4 separate regions of the Homo sapiens genome follow, and all the other regions are linked to region 1. Evidence: promoter capture Hi-C in human tissues and cell types (Jung and others, 2019). All regions are on one chromosome and are shown on one strand. Each heading gives the region's core, a stretch centred on a gene start or on the middle of the fragment in contact. The rest is flanking DNA. Distances are from core to core; before and after follow the strand shown.

The links. The method cuts DNA at HindIII sites, captures the fragments that hold promoters and counts their contacts. A contact is called where the count stands out against the background at its distance.
Region 2: a fragment that was not itself captured here is called in contact with the fragment with the promoter of ACKR3 in region 1 in 3 of the 25 tissues and cell types used here (mesendoderm cells, spleen and stomach).
Region 3: a contact is called between a fragment that was not itself captured here and the fragment with the promoter of ACKR3 in region 1, in 1 of the 25 tissues and cell types used here (pancreas).
Region 4: a fragment that was not itself captured here is called in contact with the fragment with the promoter of ACKR3 in region 1 in 2 of the 25 tissues and cell types used here (mesenchymal stem cells and mesendoderm cells).

The regions. Positions count from the first base shown.
Region 1 is chr2:236,568,021-236,571,320 of GRCh38, forward strand. It overlaps ACKR3 (atypical chemokine receptor 3), which reads left to right and starts at 1,805. Exons shown (of 2, transcript NM_020311.3): 1 at 1,805-1,904. RefSeq lists enhancers at 1-165, 166-1,041. The HindIII fragment of the contact is 7,550 bases long and covers 1-3,300 here.
Region 2 is chr2:236,911,455-236,914,754 of GRCh38, forward strand. All of the region lies in intron 2 of COPS8-DT (COPS8 divergent transcript), which reads right to left. Among named protein-coding and RNA genes, the nearest start is that of COPS8-DT, 170 kb to the right of the region's middle. The HindIII fragment of the contact is 5,661 bases long and covers 1-3,300 here.
Region 3 is chr2:236,895,125-236,898,424 of GRCh38, forward strand. No RefSeq gene overlaps it. Among named protein-coding and RNA genes, the nearest start is that of COPS8-DT, 190 kb to the right of the region's middle. The HindIII fragment of the contact is 4,359 bases long and covers 1-3,300 here.
Region 4 is chr2:236,830,524-236,833,823 of GRCh38, forward strand. No RefSeq gene overlaps it. Among named protein-coding and RNA genes, the nearest start is that of COPS8-DT, 250 kb to the right of the region's middle. The HindIII fragment of the contact is 4,086 bases long and covers 1-3,300 here.

The sequences.
Region 1 (3,300 bases), core at 555-3,054:
GGCCTCGTGGATTCTGGCCCCGGACGCACGAAGCGGGTTCTACTTTTTAAAAAAACTGCGTTGCCTTTTCCTTCCTCTACGTTAGCATCCTGTCCGGGGTCCCCGGCCCATGTGGCCTTTCTTCCAGCGACAGTACACTTAGCTCAGAACGGATTGACACCCACTCTGTGTTTCCACCGGGCGCGCAGGCTCTGCAATGCGGAGCGCGTTCTCTGAAGGACAGGCCCCGGAGTCACGGCTACAGCCACAGAAAGCGGAAACCGAGCTGCAGTCCAGAGGGGATCCCCGTACATTTCCAGCGGGCTCAGACACAGGGTCCCCCACAAGAAAGAAACAGGACAGAAAAAGTCAGGACACGTATGCTGTGGAGAGTCGAGGTCTCGCCTAGATCTTGGGTGTGGGTAGACGCAGCCGCTGGCAGTTTTCCTTTCCAGCGTCTCTGGGGAGCCTGGAGATGTCCTTGGTGCCGATGTGACACGAAGAGTGATTGCGCCGCCCTGCAGAGGCGGTGGCGGGACGCTGCGCTCGGGCTGGGAAAGGCCGGCCCCAGGGCGACCCCTCCGGAGGCCCCCGGAGAGCAGGTGTGCACCTCGCCTCCCGCTGGGCAGCCAGTTCAGGAGAAAAATGTGAAGCTTTTAGCTAAACAAAATATTTCTTTCGTTAAGGGCTTTCTCCACACGGAGACTTTCTAGCCACGTGAGACTTTGACCTCCCAGTCCCCCAGATTCAGCGCTGGGACCGAGCGTCTGCTGTTATTTTTAGTAGAAGTATAAAAAGAATCTCGAAAAGTTTTAGCTCTGGAGAAGGCGTGAATACAGCTGGTGCCTTCATACACTCCACTTGAGCCGCTCTTTAAGAACTCCAGGAGATCAGAAAGCAATACGAAAGCCAGAGCATTGCACATGGGATGGGCTGGCGGGTGGCCTTTGGGTCCCTATCTTATGGACGATTTTTGTAAATGGGGCATTGGAGATGAGTATCACCTGGATCACATTTTTAGGTTGAATTCCTCCGTGGGGGGAACTTTAGCAATACGCATCCAAATAAGAATGTAGATTGCAATAATTGTAGTAAAGTGTTTGCCAGACTCATCTCAGAAAAAGACATTATCAAAAGGCATTTATTATCTTCCTAATGCGTGTCTGGCACTGGGCAGACACTGTAGAATACTATCTTGATTAGAGTCTCAAGGATTTTGTACTTAAAGTCCTTTACAAATAAAAGTATTCAAGTATAATCTATTATAAAGACTCTTTTCTCCACTTTGGGGATATACGGTGTGGCATCGATTCATTGGTCATACCAAAACTGTTACTTCTGTTTTGGAGGAATTAACAAGGAAAACCCAGGCTTAGTAAATCAACATCGAAGTTCAGAAGTTCAGAGTAATTTGTCTTGGGAACAAAGTCCTCCCTAGAGCGAAGAGGCATTCACAGGAGCTCTTGGTGTTAATGGGATTATTCAAGATATACCTGAGACCAGATAAATATTTGATGATTTTGCCAAGCACTAGGGTTTCTTTGCAGTTTGTCTTTGGCTGACGTTTTCCCCCCGTGGGGTTTGGACTTTGTGGCTTCACCAGATTTTGCAAATGAAAGAAGGCTGGGGTTTCCCAAGAGTACACTTGTGCAGGAAACAACAGACTAGTGAGGTTTACAAGAGGGGGGTGTGTGTGTGTGTGTGTCTGCCTGTGGGATGGGGGTGGCACGGGGGAGAGAGAGATGTGGGTTACAAAGCTGCCATCTAGAGGCTAGAGGCTCCTTTCTGCAGTGTATATAATGCAAGTCTGCAGCCAGCAGAGCTCACAGTTGTTGCAAAGTGCTCAGCACTAAGGGAGCCAGCGCACAGCACAGCCAGGAAGGCGAGCGAGCCCAGCCAGCCCAGCCAGCCCAGCCAGCCCGGAGGTAAGGAAACGGTGCTCGGGCAGCAGCTCTGCTCGGAAAGAAGGCACGGCTTCTGCTCTTAAGCCAAGTGGTCTTTTCAAAGGCCTTCTTTAAAATCGCTCAGATGGGTGCTTTTGAGTCTGCGGGTCTGGTTTCTGAAAACCCAGGCTGCACGCAGCTGCATTGCAAAGTGCTTTTGCTAATTCGGAGGGCTTCACCTTTCTCTTCAGAAAGCAAAGGGCAGTTTTCTTAAGTCACTTGCAGAAGGAAATTTCCATGTGTATTTAGGAATCTGGTGTTTATTTGCTGTGTGGCTATTTAAGCTCCAGTAAGCAGGGGAACTTTGCAAGAACACAGACTATCCATTCTGCCTGACCAATTTGGCATGGGGATTAGCTTGGCACCCACTGTTTACCTGTTTTGCTTCTAGTATATCAGTTTGGAAACAGATAAAATTGGCAGTAAATACGTAATTCCAGAATGATGAACACTTTATTAAGAGGCATCCTTAAATGGAGCAGAAAACTGCTGAGAATCTTTGTGAGTCCAAGATGTATTTGAATTCAGTACTTTGGGGGATTTACCAGAGTCTGTAAGTCCGGAAGCTATAAACGTGAATGTTAAACACAGCCCGGTCTTCTCTTCTCTTGATGGCACGCTTGCTAATCTAATTTGAGTATTGTTCTCTTAGAAGGTGTTAAGTCCAACTTCAATTGGGGTTGGGGGAAGCACACACACAAATCTACTATTTTGCAATTTAAATATACTCTTCAGGTAAAATGTGGATTTTGTTCAATTTTGTTGGCATGTGCAAAGATTCAAGGAGTGACTGAGAGAACTTTGGAGTGAGGTCAGGGATGGGTGGTTAGCCAAGACTTGTAACTTCCAGGGAGAATGAGAAGTTGTAAAAGTCAGACTGGCTGTCTCTCTTTCTCTCTTCCTCTTTCTTTCTTTCTTTCTTTCCTTTTGCTCACAACAGGATTACTTAGTGTTTCAAAAGTGGGAGAGAGCCTCCTTAAATGGTTTACAGCCCTTTGAATGTATTTGGTGCAGTGACATCCCCTGAAACTTCAGTCTGCAAAGTCTCAACATGGTAACTTTGTTCTTTTCTTTTTTAAAGGCAGATGCTGCTTTTAGTGTCCCTTTATTTATTCCAGGAAAAATGTGGACATCAGCTAGGCACGCCTAGCAAAGAAAGTGGAGGCTGCTGGTTTCTGTGCTTTAACTTTCCATAGATTTTAAATGGATAAACTGCTTGCCCTTCTTTCATCAGAATATGAGCTTTCCCCAGATGGAAAGTCTTTTCTAAAGCAAAGTTGCACATGGGAGCTCTAGCTTGGAAACAATTTGCTCTTTTTTCCCCAGTCTCTGCCATAAACACTTGAATGTGCACACAACTGCAGAGCTTAATGCCACA
Region 2 (3,300 bases), core at 245-2,744, 340 kb after region 1:
CCTGTAATTCCAGTATTTTGGGAGGCTGAGGTGGGCAGATCACTTGAGATCAGGAGTTTGAAACTAGCCTGGTCAATGCGGTGAAACCCCATCTCTACTAAAAATACAAAAATTAGCCAGATGTGGTGGTGCACACCTGTAATCCCAGCTACTTGGGAGGCTGAGGCAGGAGAATTGCTTGAACCTGGGAAGTGAAGCAGAGGTTGCAGTGAGCTGAGATCGTGCCATTGCACTCCAGCCTGAGTGTCGCAGTGAGATTCCGTCTCAAATAAAAAACAACAACAACAACGACAAAAACAGTCCACGTTAAGACAGAATTCTTGTCAGTTGTGGAAAGAGAAATGCTCTCCTTCACCTATTTCTCTGTTGAGGCAGCCTGAGCATGCGACTGTCCTGTGACACACCTTCATTTCGGATGCTGTGCCCGGCCCCGGGCTCCCCACTTTTCCACGGTGGAATCCACATGTGCATTTTGTAGTCATGGCTTTTACTCACAATTTTCCCTCTAGATGCAAACGCGTCTCCATGAGGAAGAGCAAGGCTCCTGCAGGATGGAGATCAGATGGATCAGGGATCCCACAGACAGAACCTTTTGCCTGATATGAGCACCCTTGGGAGAGACCTCTTCACACAAATGTTCCTTGCAAGGAAAACACTCCTGCCTCACTTTCTTCAACCCAGCCATGACCTTTCTTGGTGAGAAACTGTAGGAAGAGTTGGATCTCTGGTGTGTGTGTGTGTGTGTGTGTGTGTGTGTGTGTGTGTGTGTGCATGGTCTGATATGAACTACGTAGCCTCTTCCTTCCGGGATCAGCTCCTCACTGTGTCCCCAGATGAGGCTTTAACCCCTGAGTGCCCTGGATGATGGTGCTGCTGCCCCCTGGCCCTGCTCACCTGGCCCCTTCCCTGGCTCTCTCTCTGCAGGGACAGGGTCACACCAGGGTTACAGCATCTGCCTCCCAGCCTCCCAGCTGGCCAGCCCTTCTGCAGTGGCTCAGCCGCAGACCCCTCCTGCACACCACAGCCAAAAACGATTCTGCCAGGACTACAGCATCCCGTGAAACTGACGCTTAATGATGCAGAACTCCACGTTTCCTGTCGTCAACTTGTCATCATTTTCCTTCCCAGAACCCCCAGCACCTCTGACACCGACCTGGATCTCTACTCCAGAAACTCAAAACCCATTTTTGCCACACCGTCACGCTAGCTCTCCTTTGCTCCCCTAATCCAGGTCCCCGTTTCTCTGCACCTGTGCCCACCACCGGGAATCTCTCCTGTTAAGTCGCCTCCTCCATCCCGCCTTCTCCTGACCCCGTTGGCCCATGCGTCTTTGAACTTTTGCAGAATTTGCATCTGTAACAAATTACTTGCTATTTAATTATGTTCTGTCATATTATTCCTGTTGAATTTGGCTGAGAACCATGCGCTCCTTGAAAGCAGAAACTGTCTTTGTTGTTCTGTGTCCTGATTCAACCCACTAGCCCCAGAGCACGTCTGCAGGAAAGGCCTTCTAAGCTCAGGTCATCAAGCTCCTCCCAACTGCACTCTTTTACTTCTGTTTTTCCAAGTCGATCTTTTTTTAAAAAAAAACAAAAAACTTAAATGAATTCATTATTAAAAAAACTTTTTATCACCTCCAGAAATGGAAAACTGTATCATTTGCCATCAGTAGAATTTGGCTGTAAAAGCAAATTCCATGTAAACAGAACAATGCTGTTGGGTCCTACTTCCTCAGTCTGAGACCTGCTCTTTCTCCCGTGGTCATGGAGACTCCAAGTTCTAAAGACATACTAGGAACAGAGAGCAGCTTTTATTGTATCCAGAAGAAGAGAGACAGAAAAAAACAGAACCACCTGAAAAGTGAACAACTTCCTCACTCTGTGATTGGCAGTTGTTGAATCCAGTGAACAGGCACCACCAAAGATCACCCTCAGCCCACACCTCAGGACCCTCTGGTACAGACTCCAAAATCTACCACTTACTGTGTGAGTTCCAAGTAACAAACTCTGAGTATTATCTTATTTAACTCACTCTGGGGTGAGTTCTCTAAGGAAGAACCCATTATTATCCCGCTTTCCAGATGAGGAAACTGAACATAGCAGGAGAAAGAAGCTTGACCACAACCACACAGTAGTAAGTGACTAAGTCAGGACCCAGTGAGGATAAACAGTCATCCTAAGTTTTATAAGACAGAAAATTTAATTACAGGGACTTCCTAGATGGTAGAAGAGCCAAAACGTCAGACAAGGGACATTGAGGCAACCCTGGTGTCCACAGCATCAGGAAGTGGCTACCACCTCTCAGATGCACAAGGAAGGAGGCAGTTATCAGAGCCCAGGAATCAGACTCACTGAAGGGAAGCTAGAACCAGGGTGGGTCTCTGTGGCAGGAGCTGGCTTGTAGAAGGAAAGAGCCTCCAGGCAAGACAGCCCAACAAACAGAGTCAAGAAGCCCACCCAGACTCCTGTACACACCCATGTCCCTCCAGGCTTCCCATTGGTCCAACCCAGTCAGAAGCCAGAGACACAGGAACCCGGGGCTCATAGCCTGCAGAGGCCAGACCCCCCATGATACAGGGCAGAGCAGGGGTGGATGGGAGGAGGGGGATGCTTTGAGACCACCAGGCACAGGCTCACCCAGGTGGTCTTATTCTGGGGTCTTTTCACTCACACAAACCATGTTGTAGTTGACTATTGGATTTCATGAGATAAGAGTTCATGTGTGTTCTTCCCCATTCCAAGAAGAGGTGGGCTCTTCCTACTTCCTAGCTACCTGCAGCTACCTGGAGCTTTCTTCTAACATCTAGGGAGTCCCTGTAAGTAAATTTTCTGTTTTAAAACTGTTTAAAGTTGTCTGAAGACAATTTTTCCTCCACTCTTTTAAGCCCATTGAAAAGGTAGTGCAAAGTTTCCCGGAGTAAGAGAGGTGAAGGGGAAGTGGAATTGTGTTTCTTGGATTGAGAACAGATCTGAGGTTCACGGAGCCTGTGGGCAGGGGTTACCTGCGTCTTGCTCCCTGTCTGCATCCCCAGGAGGAGGCCAGGCCTCCTCAGCACCCGTGAGTACATTTAAAAGGCTGAGGTCTCGGCATCAGACACTCTGTCTTGTCCAAGGCTCCCAGCTCCACAGGAGCATAGGGCAGAAAGCTGCCAGACCACACACATAATGGTGGAATGTCTAAGGCCCTTCTCCGGAGGGGGCAAGAGGAAGCCTCGAAAGATGGGGAAGGGCCAGTAGCCATGAGGCTCAGTCCTCTCCTGCCTGGTGGGTGGGACCTGTGGAGTCAGAGTCAGGCTAATTT
Region 3 (3,300 bases), core at 350-2,849, 330 kb after region 1:
AATTAAAAAGATGTGAGAAGAAGAACACAGGCCACCGAGAGCTAACATGTAGACAGTGGGTGCCTGTAACGTCAGGAACAGAACAAGTGGAAGAGAAGGGCAAGCACGTTCAGAAGGACCAGAGAAGAAATCATGCTCAAGCAAAGAATTCAATCTGCTGCTTGAAAGGCCACATCATATTCCTGGAAAATTTTAATAACAAAAATAAATCCTAAGGTATGTCTTGCTAGAAATATTTAACTCTAAGGATTAAGAAAGAATACTACAAGCTTTCAGGCAGAAGAAAAGGCTCATGGCCTAAAGGAGGAAAAATGCAGAGCAACATGGACCTTAGACTTGTCCTCGACACAGCTCTATCGCAGAAGCAAATTTCACGGTAGCTTTAGGAGAACATGAGAGTCCTAATGTTTGTACCCAGTGAAGTTTTTCTTCATGTATAAATTCAACAAAAAATCATAATAAAAAGGTCAATGAATCCCTTCTGAAAAAACTAGTAAGCCATATTTGAAATGACTGCAAATGAAGACTTCAGACAAAGGGAAGGTATCATGACAGGGCTGGCGGTGAGCACTGACATGTGGAACTGAGGGTAAACAACTCGATAATTCTACTTATGCAATGCTGTGAAGTCAATCATTTGAAGGAAAAGATTGGGAAGTAAAATTTTAAAATACTGTCTAATATACAGAAACTAAAATTCCTGGGTTTATAAACAAAAGGAAGAAGTAGTACCAACATCAAATCATCTAGTCTTTCCTCCACTGTTTTGATGTAGCTTTGGTAGAATTATTTCATTTTAAAATTTTGTTCCTGAAGTTTTGAAAAGAAAATGTAATGCTATCTATCCATGTTCTTATAAAATTAGTCACTATGAGAAGTAAGGACAAATTATATAGCTCTGAAACTATCACATTCTGAAAAAACACTGAACAGAAAACAAAAGATACAAAAGAAAGAAAGAGAAAGTATTTCATTTTGACCAAAAAGAATGAGGAGCACTGATAACTTAATATGTGAAAATCTATTAACATAATTCACTCTGTTGACAGATTTATGAAGAAAACATATGGTCATCTCAGTAGATACAGGAAAAAAATTCAATTAAATTTAATACTCATATGTGATCAAATAACTCTTAGTAAACCAATAAGCAAATAATCTTAACTTGATTTTAAAAAGGCTCAACAAAATTAGACATCATCTCGTTTGGGTGGTGAAACATTAGAAGCATTGTTTTGTTTTTTGAACAAAAAAGTTGTCTATTACCATTGTTTTAATTGATAAATATTATATTAAAATTCTAGAAAGTATCAGTCAAAGAAAAGAATCCCTGCCTTAAACAAATTCCAAATGAGATAAAATATACAGAGAGAAGAATCAGAAAGAAACACAGATATTATTTCCAGCAACAATGAATTAGAAAATGTAATTATAAAGGTTTCTGCCAACCATAAAGCAAAACTTACAAGTATCTGGGAATGCATCTAACATGATGCAAGCCTGATTTTTTATTGAGAAAATTATAACACAATTTGAAAATGACTAAATAAGTGGAAATTTGTTCTGGATTTACAAGTGGGAAGCCAACCTTAAAACAATATCAAGTCTCTCTGATTTAACTTATGATAAAGTCCATACAATTCTAGTCAAAACCCTGCAGGGTTGTTAATAAAACTTGACATTAATCTTTATCATAAAATCCTTACGAAAGGGTAAAGGTCTAACGATAGTGAAGCTATGTCCTAAAGAAGGATGTTGGCTGGGGAGACTGCCTGACCATTTATCCCGGCTTTATAAGATTACAGTAATTAGAACAGGATGACATCAACACACGAGATAAACAGAGACCAAGGATACGGCTTTGAGGGCTCAGAAGCTGGTCCATGTATATTTAGGTTAAAAAGTAAAGCTTTAAGATTTGTAGGAGAAAGAACAGGGCAATGGCCAATGTTGGTAAAGATGTGGAGGAAAGATGACTCTTCTGCCCTGTGTTTAGAGGTTTGGGAAGGAGGAGGGGGACGTGTAAATGGGACAATTTATTGGAAGACAGTTTGTCTCTTCTGGTGAAGCTGATGATGGCAATACCCTATAATGCTACATTTTACTAATTCAGGAGATAGTCCACAGAAAATCTCACATATCAGGACTTTTATTAAAGCGTTATTTATAAAAACGAATATTAGAAAAAAACCAAAATGTCCATACCTGGGAAAATGGGTAAATTCTGCCATATTTATAAAATACTACACAGTAATTCTTCTGAAAATTTAAGTCTTAATATGTCTACATGGAGAACAGGATGAGGACAGAAATTTCAACTGTGTGAGTGACAGCAATCCTTTGAGAAGAAATAATATTCAGAGTAGAAACTGAAAACAGAGTTGAATGACATAACCAATACGTTGACAACTGGCACCTGCATTCCTCTTGGGGAGAAATTTGTCTCTGTTTAGGGGGAAAGGGCTTAATCAACTCAGATTTAGAAGGAAGAACTCAGATAATATATTCTGGGGTAAAAGATACCTGAAAGAGGGTGCCGCATGGTATTAAACTCTGATTAATTTAGGACCGACCGTGAGACAATAGAAAATGTTTACTTAAAAGCTGAATATTCCAGTTCAAAGATTTTAATATTTGTAAATTTTACAAGTATCATATATTACCTTTGTAATTAAAAAAATAATTATTAAGAAGTTTCGGGCCGGGCGCGGTGGCTCACGCCTGTAATCCCAGCACTTTGGGAGGCAGAGGCGGGCGGATGATGAGGTCAGGAGATCGAGACCATCCTGGCTAACACAGTGAAACCCCGCCTCTACTAAAAATACAAAAAACTAGCCGGGCGTGGTGGCGGGCGCCTGTAGTCCCAGCTACTCGGGAGGCTGAGGCAGGAGAATGGTGTGAACCCGGGAGGCGGAGCTTGCAGTGAGCCAAGATGGCGCCACTGCACTCCAGCCTGGGCGACAGAGTGAGACTCCGTCTCAAAAAAAATAAATAAAAAAAAAAAAAAAAAAAAAGAAGTTTCACCTATACTAGCAATCAAAGAAATGCAAATTACGACAAAGAAACACCATTTTACACAAACTACATTGTCAAAGATTTAATTAAAATGACAAGGCCTCTTATTGACGAGTGTTCGGGGAAGTCAACACTGCTTTACTGCTGGCAGAATGTAAAGCAGTACAGATTATCTAGAGCACATCTGAATACTGGAAAATAGTCAGACCCTCTAAATTATAATTCCACTTTAAGTAAATTATCCTCAGCTAAGATCAGAGATGTGCACAAATGTTTACATACAAG
Region 4 (3,300 bases), core at 436-2,935, 260 kb after region 1:
GTATAAGGTAATCTAAGCAAGTTATTTTTCTAGGTATTATTGTTTTAAAATTATCTGTTGAAAGCTCTTTCCCTTCCTCTGTCATATCCTGGGAGAATTGGTTCTTTTGGGCCTTGCCATGTTACAGGACAACTGTGTGTTTACAGCGTTCCCTGAGGACAGGCCTCTGTTTCATTCCGCTCTGCACCTCTAGAACTCGGCATAGTGCAAAGACCGCCCAGAAAAGTTTGTGAATGACCATTAAAAACCCATAGAGGAAGAAAGAAGCCATGCCTATGGGGTGGCTACCCCAACAGGCCAGTGATTCCTGGAGGCTGGAGAACCATAGTGCTTTCACAGAATTAATCATATTTATTCATTTATTTATTTGTATTTCAGCACATGGGATTTATTTTCCCAGGAAAATCTCCATCCATTGGCATGACTGTTTTTAAGTTGTTATTTTTACATTGCTTATGTGAAATGGATATTTTTAGAAGTTCTCTATTGCCACAAATGGAAGAAAATGGTGAAGTCTTGAAGATTGCTTGTGATCTCATTTTATTGCACTCACATTCTCTGTTGGTGAGAAAAACGTGCTTTCCATCATACTAAGGCCCTCCACTGAACTTGCAGACTCCACTAGAGCCCAGAGAATGCAGGGCTGCTCTTCCAGTTCAGATTCACGTCATCTCACAGGCTTCTCATGGCCCCCAGGAAGTCTAGGTCTCTTGTACCACTTGACTTGACATCGTCATTTGACTTGTGAGATTCTCAAGCCTTTATGGACAGGGTCAGCTTTCCTATATCTCTTCTCTTCTTAGACTAAAAATGCAGAGAGATTCCTGCCTCTCTCCCAAAGCGTGGCCAGCTGTCTCATGGGGGACTTGAAGGTTGGTGTCCCCCAGAGTCGACTGGACTTCACCCTTCTTTCTTCCCTCTCCATGGATTACTGCTGAGGGTCTCTTCTGTTCCCTCGCCTTGCCATGTATAGTGGCTGATGACGCCTGGCTCTCCATCAGGGAAGGGACTGGGAGAGGTGAGTGAGAAGCCTCAGCTTCCCTCTTAGGCTCTGCCTGTTGCACAGTCTGAGATAAATGTGCCAAGTTTTGTTTGTCCTTCCTCTGATGTGTTCCTTGATTCTGTTTCCTTATTTCATTCCCATCACCATGACTTTAGTCAAGCCATTGTTACCTGTCACTGCAACTCAACTCCATAACTCAGTGAGTTTTCAAAGGCCCCTAAGGCAGTGGATCCCAGTTTTGAAGGTGAGGAGCAAAATGCATTTTGAGAAAGTGTGTTGTGTGTAATGTTTGGATAATGAGATAAGTTACACATTGTGCTGGGGACATAGATTCCAGGTACTAAGCTTGAGAGAAACGGCTTGGCTGACAGCTGCAGATACTTGTGCACGCGTGGGGAGGGGAACTGTGCAGCACCCCACTGTCTTCAGTGAGGCTGGGTGAGGCTGCACCTGATTTCTATGTTTACTAAAAAGGGCACGGAGTATAAAAGGCTGAGAAACACCGCTCGAACCAATCTGTCTGTCTTCATTTCTTTATTTAATTCAATAAACATGGGTTGAGGGTCTGGGTTATTCCGGAAGATGCCAGGGTTAAGGATGCAGGTATTAAGAAGACATGGCCCCTCTTAGGAGGGGCCTTCTAGGAGACACCATCTCTGGGGAGAGGCTGTGGTCAGCTGCAGATTCACTGCATGGGATCTGTGCTCCATCCAGGGGCATGTCAAGGAGAGCCCCTAACCCAAGCGGCACATCCAGAGCTTCCTGATGAGGGGCTGCCCAAGTGGGCTGTGAAGGGTGGGAGTGGTAGCAGGTTGGGGCCATCTCAGATTGTTCTGAAGACCCCCAGTGAGGGAGAAGCAGGCCTGGGAGCAGGTGGGGGCATCTGGTACATGTGCAGGAAGGAGGGTGCTGGGGTGGGCTGCTCAGATGACCTGGAGCTTTGTGGGCCATTTTAGAAAGAGAAGCCTACTCCTCATGGTGGGATTGGAAGCTCCCTGTGGGGCTGGAAGAAGGGGAGCCCATCTCTGAAAGCCAGGGAGAGACCACCTCCAGCCAGCTCTGCCAAAGGCTCCTGTGTCCTGAAGTCTCAGGCTACACTTTAATCCTGAAACAGGTACAGCAGGAACTGCTCCTGTTCCTGCACCTGCTCTGCCTGATGGGCCATTTCAGAGCAGGGAAGAGAATGTCCTTTATCACTCCCACCTGACCAAATCCTCACCATCCCGTCAGTGTGACTTGGGGCTGGTCACTTAACCTCTCTGAGCACCAGTGTTTTCATTTGTGAAATGAGGATAGAATAACCAGTCTCAAAGTCACTGGCTCTGGCACGTAGTAGGTACTAAGTAGGTGAGAATTGCAATTATTATTATTATCATTAATTGTTATTAATGACTGTGATTGTCACTGTTTCTATTTATATTTTTGTCTTTTCTGCCAGTCACTGGGTTCTAGAGACAAGGGGAGGGCTGGCCCCAGGACAGAAACCTCAGAAAGAATTCTCCAGTCTTGGAGTTGTGGACTTGAATTTCATTTCTTCTGTTAGGAACACAGGACTAAGTCAGAAGAGTAGGGAGATAGATATATTCTGAGCCAAATGTCACGGAATTTCAGAGCTGAGGATGGCCAAGGGTACACGGTGAACAGAGGCCATGGAAGGATGCATGCCAGAGTCTCTACCCCTCTGCATATAGCCTGTAATTGCTTTAGATTTTCACTAGTAGTTTTATACCATGCATGTGTATCAGTGGGCAAGTCGCTCTCTGCTGTGAACCTCTGTTTCTTTGTCTATAAAATGGAAATTATGGGCCAAATGATTTGCAAGAGCCCCGTCCACTGCTGCTCTAAGACCAGCAGGAATCACTAGATGGGGAATCCCAGTCCTCTCCATCTCTTCATTGGCTAGTATCAGGGATCCATGAGTCAGTAGGTTGACAAATGCCCCCTTAAACACCAAGTCCTAAACCAAGGGCTCCATGTTCCCAGACAGAGATGCCATTAGCAGCTTCTCTCTGCCAGCACCCCAGACAGGTGCATGCATTTTCCTACTGACATAAAACTCATGGTCAGGACCTACCTCACTGCCCCATTCTCATCTAAAAGGAATTTGACCAAGGATGGTGTCACTGGCATTAAGCTTCTCATGTGGGCCAAGAGATAAAAAGTTCACAGACTCAGCTGCAAGTTACATCCTGTTTGGCACTGTGGGAAATCACTGGGTTTAGGAACTTATTTCTCACCCTGAACCTCTTTCAGGAAATGATGTTGTCCTTTTTGATGCCCTGGCTACAAAATGCAAT